Regions from separate parts of the Homo sapiens genome. Here all the other regions are linked to region 3. The links are contacts of gene promoters, found by promoter capture Hi-C in human tissues and cell types (Jung and others, 2019). All regions are on one chromosome and are shown on one strand. Each heading gives the region's core, a stretch centred on a gene start or on the middle of the fragment in contact. The rest is flanking DNA. Distances are from core to core; before and after follow the strand shown. Region 1 holds the start of TOP1MT (DNA topoisomerase I mitochondrial). Region 2 overlaps IQANK1 (IQ motif and ankyrin repeat containing 1). Region 3 holds the start of ZC3H3 (zinc finger CCCH-type containing 3).

Region 1 (2,711 bases), core at 62-2,561, 210 kb before region 3:
TCTGCAGAGGAGGGAATGGGCAAGGTTAGAAGACGTAGAGACGGAGCTGATAAAGTAGGGAGAAGTTAACGGGCTCAAGAACCTTCCAGGGTGGAGCCGGGCGTGGTGGCTCACGCCTGTGATCCCAGCACTTTGGGAGGCTGAGGCAGGCTCAGGAGCTCAAGGCCAGCCTGGCCAACATGGCGAAAGTACAAAAAAACTAGCTGGCAGATGCTGCAGGCAGCTGGAGTCTGGAGGGAGACTCGGGGAGAGGGGGGTTCTGCTGACTCTGCAGAGCTTTTCCACGTCAGGTGAGACCAGCCTCACCTTTCTTACAGGTTTTAGGAGTTCAAGAGAGCCCACCAGCCCTGATACAGCATGTCTAGGGTGGGGCTGGTAGGAGGCTGCACCACTAAGTGCCCTGAAGGATGCAAACCTAGACAACGCCTTCTTAGAGAATAAGGGAAGATGGATCATGTCGGGTGTGAGAAAATGGGAAACCACGTGTATCTCGGAACTAACTGATAGGAGCCAGGCGCGGTGACTCACGCCTGTAATACCAGCACTTTGGGAGGCCGAGGCGGGCGGATCACTTGAGGCCAGGAGTTCGAGACCCGCCTGGCCAACATGGCAAAACCCCCGTCTCTACTAAAAATACAAAAATTAGCTAGGCGTGGTGGCGGGTGCCTGTAATCCCAGCTACTCAAGGAGGCTGAAGCAGGAGAATCACTTGAACCCAGGAGGCAGAGGTTGCAGTGAGTTGAAATTGCACCACTGCACTCCAGCCTGGGTGACAGGGCAAGATTTTGTCTCAAATAATAATAATAAAAATAAAAATAAAGAACTGACAGTGACCCTGACTGCCAAGTCCTTCACAAAGCCTCTAGGGTAGTCACATCACCAGTCTCATTTCACAGATGAAGACACTGAGGTGAAACAACCTGCCGGCCAGCGGCCAGGCAGGGCTGCACCACTGGGTGTGCGCTCAAGCCCAACTGAGGGCTGCACATTGTAGTGACATTCTTTCACCCCTGCAGAGACCAGGGCACCAAGCACCACCATCAGACACAAGCTGGCTTTCAAAGCCAGAGACCTTGCTCCAAACCCACCTGTCCACCTGGGCGACTGCAGCTCAGCAGCACTTTTTGGAAAGCACCTACCTGCCTGTGCACCCTCGGAGAGATGTGCCTCAATGCAGGGCCCACAGCCAGCCCCAGCTCCAAGCGCAGGCCAGAACTCCCTCCTCCCAAGACACCCTGCCCCATCTGGGGCTCTCTTTGGGTCCCAAGCTCCTGCAGGCAGACAGGACATTTCTGCAGCATGGCCTTAGGCAGCTGTGCAGGCCCTCAGCTGTGAATGGGTATGCTGATAGCGCACCACCAGGTCACAGAGACATGCCACGCTGGAAGCACTAAGTGAATGATGATAAACCGCGAGACCTGGCGGGAACTCCTGCAGGATCTCCCACGCACCAGTGAGGCTGTCAACTCTCCAGCTCTTCGGAAACTCCAGCATTTCATGCGCAGAGACCCATCCCCATGCGGCTACCCCAGGCCCAGTATGCGCCGGCAGGGCTTCTCACATGTCCTCCAGGAAAGCGCCTGGGACCACCAACGGCCACCAGGGCCACTGGATCCATGCGGCTTGTGCCTGGTGATGTAGATATGACAGTGAGCGCCCGCCGCCATGCAGAATCGGTCCTGGAGACAACCCGGGAACCGACTCCAGGAAAGAGCGGGTCTCAGAAGACCATGCACAGCAACATAAGCTTTTTATAAAGTACCTAACCAAACCCTACAGTGTTGAGGCCCAGGCACAGCTACACAAATGATGAAACCACAAGCGGAAAAAAAGAGGGGAGATTTCCCCAAATAGGGTTGGTGGGGTGGTGCCTGGGGAAGCAAGGGCGACGTCATGGGGGGGCCTGTACACCCCGGGCAGGAGGCGGGCCGGTCACACCGCGGCACGCATGCTCTCCTGGCCCGACTTTTGGGAAAACCGGAAGCAGGGCAAGGCCGTCCCACGAGGCCTGCCACTCCCCTTTCTGGACCTACCCAAGCCCGGTGCTCAGGGCCCTCGCCGCCTGCTCACTGGGACACCTTACCTGGCTCCACTGCCCTTCTGCGTCCTGCGCGAGCCCGGGACACCCCGGGAGGCCGGGCGGCGGGGGACCTCCCCGAGCAGCGTCAGAGCCGCCCGGAGCCGCAGCAGCCGCACCACGCGCATCTGCCAGCCTCCGGGAAAGAGCGACAAGCTGGGCCCCGCCCCAGCGGCCAGCCCCGCCCCGCCCCCAGCGGCCAGCCCCGCCCCCGAGCGCGGCCTCCGCCCCCAGCGGCGCTCATCCCAAGGCTGGGCGGTCTAAGCCTGCACGGGGCTGCGGCAGCAGGACCACTGACTGTCCTGCCGGCCTCCCCCTGGTTTCCCTGCCTTCGTGGTCCAGCGCCCCTTCACGCTGGGCGGGGACCCAGATCCAAACCCAGTCCCACTGACCTCTGCAGCACAGGGCTGGCTGTCAGGATGCCCCACAGGTCACACGACCAGGCCAGTGAACTCCTGCCCAGGGCTTGCACACAGCTCTCTCCCAGAGCCTCTGAGGGCAGGGGCACCTAGCAGGTCCTTCCTAAGTACACGCTCTGCTGCTCTGGAGAAGGGACCACACAGGCTCAGATGGCCCCCTACCTCATCCCCTACAAACAGCAGCACTTCCAGGACGCAGAAACCGGCAGAAGCAC
Region 2 (2,700 bases), core at 177-2,676, 240 kb after region 3:
CAAGATCGCACCACTGCACTCCAGCCTGGGTGACAGAGTAAGACTCCGTCTCAAAACAAAAAAAAAAAAGATGGATTGTCATTTTGGATTAAAAATTGTAGCTAACTATGTTCTACCTATAAGAAACAAGCTTTAAATGTAAAAGCACAAATAGTTGAAAATTAAAATGATAAAAACAAATATGCCAAGATAACACTAAACAGGATGCTGAAGTAACTGTATTAACATCAAGTAGATTTCAGAAAAAAGTATGTTACTAAGGATAAAAGAATCATTTAGTAATGACAAATGTAGGAATTCATCATGAGGACATAAAAATCCTAAATGTTCATGCAGCTACTAACAGGGTTTCAAAATGCATGAAGCAAAAACTATGAGAACTACAAGGAGAAATAAAGAGATCCACAATGGTAATAGGCGATTTTGCCATCTCTCTCTCCCCATAATTGATGAGACAAGTAGACGGAATATCAGCGATGATACCGAAGAGCTGAACCACGCTGTCCATCACCATCCCTTCATCATTCATCAGTCATCGTTTCCATACATTCACCCACTTCATCCATCTCGCCCCAGTATTGGTTTGCGCTTTCGCCAATTCATAATTATCTTATTAACTTGAGTCATTTATTTATTTATTTAGAGATGGAGTCTTGCTCTGTCACCCAGGCTGGAGGGCAGTGGCGCAATCTCACTGCAACCTCTGCCTCCCGGGTTTATGCGGTTCTCCTGCCTCAGCCTCCAGAGTAGCTGGGACTACAGGCATGCGCCACCACGCCCAGCTAATTTGTTCTTTTGTATGTTAAGTAGAGATGGGGTTTTGCCATGTTGGCCAGCTGGTTTCGAACTCCTGACCTCAGGTGGGCTGCCTGCCTCGGCCTCCCAAAGTGCTGGGATTACAGGTGTGAGCCACCATGCCCAGCCATGAGTCATTTATTTATAAACTTATAAATAAATTTATAAGCTTATATATAAATTTATGAACTTATAAACATATATAAATTTATAAACTTATAAGCTATCCACTCATTAATGTGCCCATTCCACCCTTACACCATGTTTAAATAATTATTCACTTATTTTTTATCTACTATTCATTCAGACATCCATTCATCCATTCATACACGCATTCATGCTGTTTACTTGACAGAAAATTATGAGAAAGCAAAGAAGGACTGTGTCTCGTTCACCCCTTAATCGTATGCCCCAGTATTGGTTGACCACGATAGGCACTGAAACATTTTGTTGAACGATGAATTCATCCATCAATTCATCCATCCAGTTGCTCAACTAACCATTTGCTTATCTCACGTATCCATTCTTTACACTCATTCATCTATTAATTTTTCATGTATCAGTTCATCATTTAATCAGTTCATTCAATTAATCTAATCTTCATTCTCTTATAGTTTAATTCATTAATTTACTCATTCATTCATCATTTATTGCCTATTCATTAAGACACTCGTAAGTTTACTCGTTATATTATCCTTTTATTTTCTGTCTTCATTCATTTTCCGTCTACTCCAGTTCTTCCACTTACAGACAGAACTTTGGCAAGTTCTGAAGCTTATTTGAATCTGTTTCCATATATTCAGAAATGGGACTAATAACAGCTTTTTGAAGATTCATGAGATAGTGAATGAAATTCCTTGGCACAATTCCTGGTGCAAAGTCAGTTCTCAAGAAATGGTAGCTATTATTATTTTAAATGAGTATCACAATTTCTTTTAAGTTACAAAATCATTGCCTCATTCGTATGTCTGTTCACTCTTCCATCCTATTTATCTAGTTATCCATTCATCCCTTCTCTCATTTTAGCTACTCCTTGATTTTATACATCTTCAGACTTTCCTTTTTAATTACAAATGACATACAGAATATTGCAGAAATCAAAGTTGTGGCTCAATTATTTACCACAAAGGAAATACTCATGTAGTAACTACCTGACTCAAGAAATAAAGTATCGCCAGAACACCACACCTCTCCCCAGATCATCATATCCTGAATTTTATAGTGCTTGCTTCCTTCTTTTTTTCAAGTTACAAAACTTTCCTGAAATATGTATAAAGTTCCCAGTTTAATCCTCTCAACAAACCTGATTGTAGTATTATTAATATTCCTACATTATATACAAAGACTTTATTATATACAAAGAAACTTAAGCACAGAGATGTTAAGTCATCTTTTTTTAACTTTTCTTTTAGGTTTGGGGGTACATGTGAAGGTTTGTTATGCAGGTGACATAGTCATGGGGATTTGTCGTACAGATTATTTCCTCACCAGGAACTAAGCCCAGTACCCAATAGTTTTCTGCTCCCCTCCCTCCTCCCACCCTCCACCCTCAAGTAGATCCTAGTATCTGTTGTTTCCTTCTTTGTGTTCCTAAGTTCTCATCCTTTAGCTCCCGTTTACAGGTGAGAACATGTGGTGTTTGGTTTTCTGTTCCTGCGATAGTTTGCTGAGGATAATGGCCTCCAGCTCCATCCATGTTCCTGCAAAGGACATGATCTCATTCTTTTTTTATGGCTGCATAGTATTCCACGGTGTGCATGTACCACATTTTCTTTATCTTGTCTGTCACTGATGGGCATTTAGGTTGAGTCCATGTCTTTGCTATTGTGAATAGTGCTGCAGTCAACATATGCGTGCATGTGTCTTTATGGTACACTGCTTTATATTCCTCTGGGTATATACCCA
Region 3 (2,700 bases), core at 142-2,641:
CGTCCAGACGTGTTGACGCCCCAGAGCAGGTGTGATGGGAGCTCAAGAAGTGTCCCCAAGTGGGAGGCAGCCCACCTGGCCTCTTATCCATACACACTTTCCCAATCCTTAAGTCTTCCCTTTGTGAGAGTAAAAGCAAAAAGGATTTTTAATTTTTAAAGCTTTTTTTTGTTTGGTTGGTTTTGGCTTTTTATTTGAGATGTGGTTTTTCTCTGTTGCCCAGGCTGGAGTGCAGTGGCCCAATCACGGCTCACTGCAGCCGGGACCTCCAGGGCACAAGCAAACCTTCCACCTCTGAGTAGCTGGGACTACAGGCGCAAGCCACCACGCCCATCTCACTTTTTAAAATTTTTCTGTAGAGACGGGCTCTCGTCATGTTGCCCAGGATGGTCTCAAACTCCCGGGCTCAAGCCATCCTCCTGCCATAGCCTCCCAAAGTGCTGGGATTACAGGTGTGGGCCACTGCGTCCGAACATGGATTTTCTTTTTAAGTTTAGAAAGACCAATTTGGGTTTTTTAATGTTTAAGTGTGGAAGCTGAAGCCTGTTCAGTCTGCGCCTGGAATGGCAAGGGGAGTGTGACTGTTCGGAGAAAAGGGGCATCAAAACCGGGCGTCGAGGCTGGGAGCGGTGGCTCATGCCTGTAATCCCAGCACTTTGGGAGGCCGAGGCGGGTGAATCACCTGAGGTCGGGAGTTAGAGACCATCCTGGCCAACATGGTGAAACCCCGTCTCTACTCAAAATACAAAAATTAGCCAGGCGTTCTGGCGCCTACCTGTAATCCCACGTACTCCGGAGGCTGAGGCAGGAGAATCACTCGAACCCAGGATGAGGAGATTGCAGTGAGCCGTGATCGCGTCACCGCACCCCAGCCTGGGTGACAGAGCAAGACTCTGTCTCAAAAAAAACCGGGCGTCAAGGAAGGAACCCGCGTGCGCCCTTAGCCTGCTCTGCCGAAATGAGCCATGAACTAGTCCCAGCCCCGCAGTGGGGCGCGGGGAGAGAGTGGGCGCCGGGGGACGCGACAGCCCGCGGTGGTGGGGAGGGCCGCCGCCCCCCGCGGGTTACTAAGCGACGGCCCTGCCTCCACCCTCTGCAGCCCCAGCAGGGCCGGCACCACTCCCTCGACAAAGCTGGAGCCGGGGACTGACCCGGGCCCTGAGCCGGCCCACAAGTCCTGGCGGACCCTACCGTCCCCCACCCCAGCCGCCACCCAGAACACGCGGGCGGTGAGCGACCCCTTCGACAAGGGGGCAGGGGACCCGCCGCGAGGTGAGGGGGAAAGAAGGGGACTCGCGTCCCGGCCCCGGCCGGACCTACCCTGCAGTAGGCGGATCTGCCGCCGTAATATCTCCTTTTCCTCCATCTCCCGAGTCCGCGACGGCCGGCCAGGCCCCCACGACGTCATCGCTACGCGACCTTTTTCCCGCGGGCGGGGCGGAGCGGGCCAGGGCGGAGCTGCCAGGAGCAGGCCCGGATGTCTGCCGACCGCCGAGGACCCGCCGTCGCGCTGACAACGGCAGCGGAGAGGCAGAGCCGCGCACGCGCAGAACGAGGCGGGGACGTCACTAGTGAGCGCCGGGAAGTGGCCTGGTAACGGCTGGGAAGGGACTGCTTGGGCTCTGGGAGGCCGCGCGGGCCCAGCTTGTGCAGTCCGGGATCGCGTCCCCTTGGGAGACTTGGCGAGGGGCGAGACCTGGGGCCCACCCAGCCCATACCGCAGTTCCTTCCCACAGTCCCTGCGTTTCATTTCGCCCCAGTTGAGTGTTGGGGGGGGGGGGGTCTACGCGGGGACCCATGGGAGAAGGGCCAGTTAACAATTACTCTTGACCCAGGAGGGTCTGTGAAACCTCTTACTGTGGCCAGAGGAGAAGACATCGGAGAGCAAGGTTCCCTGGATAGACATGTTGAACCTCTGAAAACATGAAAGTTTTTAGTTCGTCATTGGAAACATGTACAAGTGTAAACCTCTGTGCGCTGTTGGTGGGAATGTAAATGGCGCAGCACCGCAGAAAACTATGGAGATTCCACAAAAGGTTAAAAGTAGAACTACCGGATATGAGGGCGATCTGGCTGCGACACCTGTCATCCCATTGATCGCCAGGGTTGATTCGGCTGATCTGGCTGGCTAGGCGGGTGTCCCCTTCCTTCCTCACTGCTTCATGTGCGTCCCTCCCGAAGCTGCAGCTCAGTCGAAGAGAACGACCATACCCAATAGAAGAGCTGGGCTTCCCTGGTAGAACCTCCAAACAAGCTCTCAAGGTCCATTTGTAGGAGAAGGTAGGGTAGTCAAGATTCCAGACACATCCAAATGAGGCGCTGCATGTGGCAATCTGCCTTTCTAGGAGAAAACAAAAATGGAACTACGGTATGATCCAGCAACCCTACTTCTGGCTATATTCCCAAAAGAATGGAAACCAGAGACTCAAACATATTTGTGCCCCCATGTTCACTGCAGCATTTTTCCCAATAGCCAAAAGACGGAAACAACCCAAGTGTCCACGGGTGGATGGAAGGATAAACAAAATGTGATCCATACAAACAATGAAATATTTTTCAGCCTTAAAATGGAAGGAAATTCGGCCGGGCGCAGTGGCTCACGCCTGTAATCCTAGCACTTTGGGAGGCTGAGGCGGGCGGATCACGAGGTCAGGAGTTTTGAGACAAGCGTGGTCAACATGGTGAAACCCCGTCTCTGCT

Evidence for each region. Contacts are between HindIII fragments. The study calls those that stand out against the background at their distance.
Region 1: a contact is called between a fragment that was not itself captured here and the fragment with the promoter of ZC3H3 in region 3, in 2 of the 25 tissues and cell types used here (IMR-90 fibroblasts and lymphoblastoid cells).
Region 2: a fragment that was not itself captured here is called in contact with the fragment with the promoter of ZC3H3 in region 3 in 1 of the 25 tissues and cell types used here (dorsolateral prefrontal cortex).

What each region holds. Positions count from the first base shown.
Region 1 is chr8:143,332,657-143,335,367 of GRCh38, forward strand. It overlaps TOP1MT (DNA topoisomerase I mitochondrial), which reads right to left and starts at 2,224. Exons shown (of 14, transcript NM_052963.3): 1 at 2,084-2,224. The coding sequence starts at 2,205. RefSeq lists enhancers at 1,448-2,132, 1,672-1,721 and a silencer at 1,922-2,381. The HindIII fragment of the contact is 3,497 bases long and covers 1-2,711 here.
Region 2 is chr8:143,778,143-143,780,842 of GRCh38, forward strand. All of the region lies in intron 7 of IQANK1 (IQ motif and ankyrin repeat containing 1), which reads left to right. Among named protein-coding and RNA genes, the nearest start is that of MIR937, 34 kb to the right of the region's middle. The HindIII fragment of the contact is 4,347 bases long and covers 1-2,700 here.
Region 3 is chr8:143,540,056-143,542,755 of GRCh38, forward strand. It overlaps ZC3H3 (zinc finger CCCH-type containing 3), which reads right to left and starts at 1,392. Exons shown (of 12, transcript NM_015117.3): 1 at 1,321-1,392. The coding sequence starts at 1,366. It also overlaps the pseudogene RN7SKP175. The HindIII fragment of the contact is 13,358 bases long and covers 1-2,700 here.